Linked DNA regions of Homo sapiens: region 1 is linked to region 2. The links are contacts of gene promoters, found by promoter capture Hi-C in human tissues and cell types (Jung and others, 2019). All regions are on one chromosome and are shown on one strand. The core of a region is centred on a gene start or on the middle of the fragment in contact, and the rest is flanking DNA. Distances in the headings are between cores, read along the strand shown.

Region 1 (4,384 bases), core at 903-3,402, 39 kb before region 2:
CCATCCTTACCTGACTGGTTACCTTACAGTGTCTACAGTTGGTTCCCTTAGATTTTTTTTTAGCTATTACTGAAAAAAAAGTGCACTCTTGGAAATTTAAATACATATATCTCAGCTTACTGCAACCTCCACCTCCTGAGTTCAAGCAATCCTCCCTGCCTCAGCCTCCCAAGTAGCTGGGATTACAGGCGCCTGCTATCATGCCTGGCTAATTTTTGTATTTTTAGTAGAGATGGGGTTTCACCATGTTGGCCAGGCTGGTCTTGAACTCCTGACCTGAGGTGATCTGCCCGCCTCGGCCTCCCAAAGTGCTGGGATTACACGCATGAGGCACTGTGCCTGGCCAATTTTAAAATATATTTTTAAGAATGCTGATATCAAGTATCTTCATAGATTGAGAAAACCACAGTTTGGTGCTTATATATGACTTTTAAAAACTCTCAGGAAACTAAGAGTAGACAGAAAGTTTCTTAACTTCATAATTGCTACACCCCAAAAGCCGACTGCACCAAGAATCCTGGCGAAGATGAATCTTCTCACTGTGAGCCCACATGGGCCCCACTACTAAGGGGGTGGACTAAGGCTCTGAGGGATGAAAGTGGCAGAAGACCCGTCAGGATCAGAAGGGAAAAGATAGGGCCTCATTCCTTGCAGATGATAACATCACATAAACCCATGGAATCAGCAGGCAAGATAACAGAACTAGCAGGGAGCTTAGGCAAGGCTGCTGGATATGTGGCCAACTCACCGGCCCACCAGCTTCTCTTTACACCCGTGACACAGCCAACTAAAACTAAGTCATGGTGTTTTCTGGACGGTGAACGCAGAGAGTGCTGGGAGGCAGCATGCCCGGGAGGAGAAGCAGGAGCTTCACCACGCCCAGCCCCGCCCTTGCTGTATTAGGCTGTTCTCTCTATTATTCATTCAATTTGGGCACTGGAAAGTACAGACATCTGGCTTCATAGTCTTGTAAGAGAATCAGTACTTACCATACTATTGCTCTTTCAAGTTTTGAAGTAACAGGAGAATTTCCCCTGGACTACAGATTTACACAGCTCTCTTCAAACAATCCACAAACAGCTGGTCTAAACCCTCCACTGGTCTTATCGATGATGAGACACTGGCAGCCAAATAAATTATCTTTACTGAAAAATGGAGTAAAGAAACATATATGGCAAATGTACCACAAAAATGTTAATATTTCAAAAATACTGTGAAGTGCTTCATAGGAACAAGTTATTAATGAAAAGTGACCAATACATTGAAAAAAAGGTCACCATTTGCAATGCTCGAAAACCTAAAACGCACCCTGGAATCCACATAACAAAGAACGCACGTGGTTTTTCTACAAAAATTGAACATTCCAGTAGAGAACATAGCTGGAGTCGTAGGCCGGGCGCGGTGGCTCACGCCTGTAATTCAAACACTTTGGGAGGCCGAGGCGGGCAGATCACGAGGTCAGGAGATTGAGACCATCCTGGCTAACACAGTGAAACCCCGTCTCTACTAAAAATACAAAAAATTAGCCGGGCGTGGTGGCAGGTGCCTATAGTCCCGGCTACTCGGGAGGCTGAGGCAGGAGAATGGCTGGAACCCGAGAGGCGGAGCTTGCAGTGAGCCGAGATCGTGCCACTGCACTCCAGCCAGGGCAACAGAACGAGACTCAGTCTCAAAAAAAAAAAAAAAAAAGAACACAGCTTGAGTCATTATTAAACGAAGAGATACTTTAATGTTACAGGTTCCCAACAGTACCAGATTCACCTATGCATTAAATGTAATCCTGATCAAAATTCCAGCTGGAATTGTCGAGGAGATGAATAAACTCACTGTGAATTTATGTGGAAGGATCAAGGTGTAAGACAAATGCTATAATCTGAATGTTTGTGTTCCCCCAGAATTCACATGCTACCACCTAGTCCCCGCTGTGATGGGATTAGGAAGTGGGGCTAGTAGAAACTAACCCAGTAGAAAAATGGGAAAGGAGAGGTATTTGGGAGGTGATGAGGTCATGAGGGTGCTGCCCTCCCGAATGGGACGAGTGCCCTTATACAAGAGGCCCAGAGAGCTGCCTTGCCTCCTCCACCACGTGGGGACACAGTGAGGAGGGCTATGAGGACGTGGCCTCACCAGACACTGAAACTGCCGGCACCTTGGCCAGGCGCAGTGACTCACTCCTGTAATCCCAGCACTTTGGGAGGCTGAGGCGAGCAGATCACCTGAGATCTGGAGTTCGAGACCAGCCTGCCAACATGGTAAAACCCCATCTCTACTAAAAATACAAAAATTAGCCAGGTGTGATGGCACATGCTTGTAATCCCAGCTACTTGGGAGGCTGAGGCAGGAGAATTGCATGAACCTGGGAGGCAGAGCTTGCAGTGAGCCGAAATCGCGCCACTGCACTCCAGCCTGGGTGACAAAGCAAGACTCTGAAAAAAAAAAAAAAAGTAAAATAAAATAAAATAAAAAGAAACTGCCAGCACCTTGATCTCGGACTTGCCAGCCTCCAGAACTATGAGCAACAATTTTTTGCTGTAGGCTAGGCACAGTTGCTTATATCTGCAATCCCAGAACTTTGGAAGGCCAAGGCAGGCGGATCACTCGAGCCCAGGGGTTGGATACTAGCCTGGGCAACATGGCGAAACCGTGTCTCTACAAAAAAAAAAAAAAAATTAAAAAATTAAAAAATTAGCCAGGCATGATGGGACGTGCTTGTAGTCCCAGCTACTTAAGAGGTTGAGGTGGGAGAATCGCTTGAGCCCAGGACGCCAAGATTGCAGTGAGCAAAGATCGTGCCACTGCACTCCAGCCTGGGCCACAGAGTGAGACTGTCTCAAAAAAAAAAAAAGAAAGAAAAAAAGAAAAATTTCTGTTGTTTATTAGCTAACCTGTTTATGGTACTTTTTAAATAGCAGCTCAAATGGCCTAACACAAAAAACTAAGTCAATTTTGAACCACAGAGCAGAGAAGGGGCAGGGCAACTCCTGAGCAGGCGCCATTGTGTGTTGCAGAGGCCGTGGTCCTGGGAACAGCATAGGCCAGGCGTCAGGACCATGGAACAGAGAGATCAAAACAGACCTGGGGTAGACAGGAACTCGATAAAGGTGGCAGCACAAAGGGAAAGGGCAAGGCTGGTTGTTTAGTGAATGAAGCTGGGAAAACTGGCTCCCTTTGAAGCCGGACTTCCACTTCACCCCAGTATTCCAGGTGGTCCCCAGCTGGATTAAAGGCCTACGGATGGAAGGGAAAGCTTCAGAGCTGATCAGTGAATACTCAGGATAACATCTTTGTGACCTATAGCGGGGGAAAGTTTTCTTAAGCAAAACTCCCCACATGCAAACCTGGGCTGAAAAAAGAATGGATTTGGCTAAATCAAAATCAAGGCTATCTGTTTAGTAAAGAACACCACAGCCCGGCCGGGCGCGGTGGCTCACGCCTGTAATTCCAGCACTTTGGGAGGCTGAGGCGGGCGGATCATGAGGTCGGGAGATCGAGACCGTCCTGGCTAACATGGGGAAACCCTGTCTCTAGTAAAAATACAAAAAATTAATCCGGGCGTGGTGGTGGGCGCCTGTAGTCCCAGCTACTCGGGAGGCTGAGGCAGGAGAATGGCGTGAACCCGGGAGGCGGAGCTTGCAGTGACCTGAGATCGCACGCTGCACTCCAGCCTGGGCGACAGAGTGAGACTCCATCTCAAAAAAAAAAAAAAAAGAACACCACAGCCCCACGCCAACAGAAGGCAGACTGGGAGGAGATGCTTGTGACGCCTACAAATGCTAAGGGATTACTATTAGAATATAGAAAGAGCTCCTGCTGATCAATACCAAGAGACGGGCAACTCAGTAGAGAAATGAGAAAGGAGAGGATGAGGTGGTTTTCAGAAATGGATGCCCAAATGGCTAGCAAGTGTTCGAAGAGACTCAAACACATCCGTGGGCAAAGAAATGCAAATTAAAGCAACAGTGAGATGCCACTGTCCATCCAGCAGGGTGGTGATGTTGAGAAGGTGGGTGGTTCCAAATAGTAACGTGGATGTGTGCCAGAACATCAGGCACAACTGACGGGAACGTTCCTCTGGGCAATTGGGCACCATTTAGCAAGACTGAGTGTGCATGCGCCCTCTGACCCAGCAATGCTAGAGAGGTGATCACAGGATGCCTGAGGGAGTGTGCAGAGCTATGCTTTGTATGTGTGGCATTGATTCTGAGGGCAGGGCTGGAGATGGACTCTGGGTTCACTGCCAGGTTCAAGGTGGATGCAAGCTGCGGTGTACTATGAAATACACAGGGGAGGAAACACTGAATCTGCTGTTCTATAGTTCTACAGACAGAGCTCAAAAGCAACGATACAACAGAAAAGTGAAATGGAAGAGAGTCAGAGCACGACA
Region 2 (4,353 bases), core at 824-3,323:
TAAGGCTTTTGTAACACTTACTAATCAGCTTCAGCCTTCGGTATCTTTAGCAGGTCAAAGTATCTGGAATTTGATAACATTTCTCTTCTTGTTGTATTTATTTTTAGCAATTATCTTTGATTTATGGAAACATGGTGAGATGCTGGCTTTTCCATTTATAGTAGTGATTTAAAGTATCCTTTAAAAAATTGAAAAAAGTTTTAGGCGCTGTGTAAAGAAATACCCAACCATAGACACGGCAGGAAGGTGCAGAACATGCCCCTTGAAGTAGGGGCGGCTGCTGGTTGGGTTTCACTCGTGTTTCGAAGAGGATGGAAGCGCTGACAACCACAGGAGGAATGCGTCATGGGTTCCAGGACAGCAACTGGCTGGACCCAACTCTGGGCTGCCTAGCTCCCCCAGCCTTCACAATTCAACTCATGCCACCTCTTACAGGAAGTCCTCCTGGATGCCCAGCTCTGGAGTCATCTCTGTGGTATACTAGGATTCCAGTTCCAACTTTCTCTGGAACCAGTTGGGTCATCACAGGTCACGAGAGCAGATGCCTACAGAGAGTGAGGAGAGGCGGGACCTGCCACAAACTGCAAGGTAAGTGCCCATTTAATGGTTGCTAAGCAGGACTGTGGGGCTAGCGTGGCCACATCTTCCAATATCTCAAGAAAAGTTACCAATCTAAATTTCCATGTGACATCTCACCATGCCTGGGAGCTGGATCCAGCCTCGGGCACCCTTAGGTGACACAGAAAGAGTACAGCTTGCAGGTGAAGATGGCTGTCCAGCTGCGATGCTCTCACACCCAGGACCCACAATCGAAAGAACCAAGGACGTGAGATCACAGTTAGAGCCTGCTGTGTAAGTCGTGTTTCCCCCAACGACTGGGACCTCCTGGCCAGCAGGGAGAGGCCTGAGTCATCTCCGGGTCCTCTGCCCCTGGCCAAAGCAAAGACCAAAGCCCTGGCCACACAGACCTGGGGCAGGGCAAATGAGAAAATCAAAGGGGTGGGTGTTCACCCTCTGGGGAAGTGAGGCAGAAATTGGGGGTCCCAGGGCAGAGATGATCAACAGCCTGAGAGGGGGCTCTCAGGCAGGCCCTGGAGAGAGGCCGCTGAGCTCAGACAGCATGGGAGGATCAGGGCCTTGCTGGAGAGGAGGGACTGGGGAGGGGTTCCGGTTGGCAACGGGCTCTAACAGCAAACTGGCCCCAGAATGGGCCCAGGTGTCCTTGGATGCTTGGGTGGAAAAGGTAGGCAGAGCTTGGAGAGGCCATTTCAGGTTGGGGGCCGGGAGTGCAATGGCGGGAGGACAGAATGCATACGTGGGGTTGAGGACAGGTGAGGGCAGGAGCCTGACTGTGCTCATGGGCAGAGAGCCCAGGTCTGGCAGGAAGAGGCTGTGCTGAGGCTGCAGCGGAGGGATGGGAAGGCAGATGGGGGACAGGGGACAGGGACTTCAGAGGAAGAGGAACTGGGGACTGAAGGAGCCTTGCCTCTCTCAGTAAGGGCAAAAGTTGATCTTTGGGGTCGCGCCCTGGGTGTACCCTCCTAACAGCATCTTCTGGCCTTTGCGGCCTCTATTTGGGCATTCGGCCTGGCTCAGACCTTGGACCCAGTAGTCAGTCCCCCCTCCCCTTTCATTCCCTCACCCTGTCCTGCCCCAGAGCACAGAGACAGGGGGATGCACCCCTTGAATTCCAGGGCTGATGGGTGGGACCCGGCACCCCAAGGGCTCTCTAGGTGGGGACGTTCGGCCGGCGCCGCTCCTCGGAGGTTGTGCCCCTGGGGTGGCTGGCGGCGGGGCTCCCCCGGCCCGGCCCGCGGCGCTTCTCTGCCGCCGCCTCGGGGTGTCTCTGCTTCGCTGCGAGCCCGGCACCGCGGCGACGGCGGCGCGAAGAGGGAAGCGGGCGGCGGCGGCGGCCGCGCCAAGATGCGCCGGGTCACCGCAGGCTGAGGCGCCCGCCGTCCCCGCCCTCCCCCTCGCTCGCCTCCCTCCCTCCCGCCTGCCTCCCTCGCTCGCTCGCTCCTTCCCTCTCCCCGCCTTCCCTCCGCGCTCCCCCGCCCGCCCCTCCGCGCCTCGCCTCCTCCGCCCCGCGCCCTGCGGTGCTGCAGCTGCGGGCGGCTCCAGCTGCCCCCAGATGTGGGCTGGGCGGCTCGCGGGGAACTTTCGCGCCGGCTGCGAGTGCGGGGCCCCGGCTGCAGTCCGGCTGCCATGGATCCGCCGGCGGGAGCCGCTCGCCGCCTGCTCTGCCCCGCGCTGCTGCTGCTGCTGCTGCTGCTGCCGCCGCCGCTCCTGCCGCCGCCGCCGCCGCCCGCGAACGCCAGGCTCGCCGCCGCCGCCGACCCCCCAGGTAGGTGCGGCCCGGCCCCTACTCCCCGGGACCCCCGCCGGCCTGGCCCTGTCCCGCGTGCCCCGCCGCCCCCTCCCCAGGCGTCGTCCAGCCTGACTTGGGCAAACTCCGCGCGCCCCGCCCGGGGCCAAGTTGGCCAACTTCGGGGCCGGGTTGGTCGCGCAGGGGGCGCCCCGCACCGCCCCCGAGCGCCTTGGGCCGGGGGAGCCTCGGAGCACTGGCGGCTCCTGAGTCGCGGAGGGTGGGGACGGAGGGCCGGGAAAAGCCCCGCGGCCAAGAGCGCAGAGTCAGCCCCAGCGGGTCCGAGGGGGGAGCCAGGGCGAGGCGGCGCCGGGGCTCGCGTCCGGGGACGCTCCGGAGGAGCCGGCTGCCGAGCGCGTAGCCTTGGGCCCTAAGGATTGGTTGGGGCGCCCCGCAGGGAATCCCCGGAGATCGGAGGGACCCTGTTCCACCCCTCCCAGTCCTCGGGCGCTCGGGGAGACGGGGCCGGCAGCGGGCTGAGCGGGAGCTGGACAGGCAGGACAGGCCGCTCGTGCTCGGGGAAGCCGAGACTCCGCCGCTCCGGAGGCTGGCGGTGAGGGCACTCGGGCGGCAGGGGCCCGCCGAGGGGTCGTGGCACACGGGTAAGGGGGCCAACCCGGAATGGCTTCCGAGCAGCTCCACGTCCTGCCAAGGACGGTAGGTGCAAGGGTCGGGGGACTCTCTGACGGGGTCGTCCCTTCGGGCACGGGGAGGTTCCCACCGAGCCCCAACCCTGAACGGGGCAGGGGGCAGAGCTCTTGGCAGGCAAGGTCTCCGGAGGAGGGAACGGCTGGGGAGTGGCGGAGCCCCGGAGTGGTGGCCCTGTTAACGCCCCTTCCCGGTTGCAGGAAAGCCGGGGAGGTGCAGGCTGGCTTCTGGGGTCGCCTGGCGGAATGCCCCTTCCCTTCGCAGTGGGGCGGGGTCTGGGGGGGCGTGGCTTGCCGGCGGGTCTCTGAGGCACTGGGGCTCCGTGGTCTCCGCCGATCTAACGCCCCTTCCCGTTGCAGGCGGGCCCCTGGGGCACGGAGCGGAGCGCATCCTGGCGGTGCCCGTGCGCACTGACGCCCAGGGCCGCTTGGTGTCCCACGTGGTGTCGGCAGCTACGTCCAGAGCAGGGGTACGAGCCCGCAGGGCCGCCCCGGTCCGGACCCCGAGCTTCCCCGGAGGCAACGAGGAGGAGCCTGGCAGTCACCTCTTCTACAATGTCACGGTCTTTGGCCGAGACCTGCACCTGCGGCTGCGGCCCAACGCCCGCCTCGTGGCGCCCGGGGCCACTATGGAGTGGCAGGGCGAGAAGGGCACCACCCGCGTGGAGCCCCTGCTCGGGAGCTGTCTCTACGTCGGAGACGTGGCCGGCCTAGCCGAAGCCTCCTCTGTGGCGCTCAGCAACTGCGATGGGCTGGTGAGTACGCACTTCTCTAGCTCCTTTCTCTCCGCTGCTCTCGCCTGGGTTTTGGAAAAGGGTTACCTGGGAGTCCCTTGGGAGGGCAAGGCCTGCGCTGAGGACTTTCCGCGCCCTTCCCGTGCTTTAGTGAGCCTCGTGCTCCAACTGAAGGGCTTGGCTGGAAAGCAGGTTGTTTTGACTGGTCTGAGCAGGGGGCCATTTATGCATGGGGAGCGCCCGGGTCTCCAAAAGGCTCAGCAGGCAGGAGCGTGCGCCTCTCTCTTTTGCCTGCCTGAACAGGTCTCTGGCTTGCATCCGGGGGTGGGTCCGTGTATGTGTGTGTACCTTTGTGAGTGTGTGCACATGTGTTGTGGAACGTTGGTGTGTACCTGCATCTGGGTGCCCGTGCACCTGTGTGAACATGTGCGTGTGCCAGTGTCTCTTGTGCACGTATGTGTCTGGGTTTCTGCACATCAGTGTGTTGAGCATCTGTTGAGTTTGTGTCCGTCCTTGTGCATACTGGCGTGATATGTGTGTGGTGGACTTATGGGCTGGCAGTCAGTCTTCCTGTTTCCTTGCGTGCGGGTAATACCAGCCCAGGGAG

Evidence for each region. The method cuts DNA at HindIII sites, captures the fragments that hold promoters and counts their contacts. A contact is called where the count stands out against the background at its distance.
Region 1: a contact is called between a fragment that was not itself captured here and the fragment with the promoter of ADAMTS2 in region 2, in 1 of the 25 tissues and cell types used here (adrenal gland).

What each region holds. Positions count from the first base shown.
Region 1 is chr5:179,382,572-179,386,955 of GRCh38, reverse strand. No RefSeq gene overlaps it. Among named protein-coding and RNA genes, the nearest start is that of ADAMTS2, 39 kb to the right of the region's middle. The HindIII fragment of the contact is 7,295 bases long and covers 1-4,384 here.
Region 2 is chr5:179,343,181-179,347,533 of GRCh38, reverse strand. ADAMTS2 (ADAM metallopeptidase with thrombospondin type 1 motif 2) reads left to right here and starts at 2,073. Exons shown (of 22, transcript NM_014244.5): 1 at 2,073-2,344; 2 at 3,373-3,767. The coding sequence starts at 2,206. It overlaps LOC105377759 (a long non-coding RNA gene), which reads left to right. Exons shown (of 3, transcript XR_941311.3): 2 at 436-588; 3 at 755-1,173. The HindIII fragment of the contact is 12,907 bases long and covers 1-4,353 here.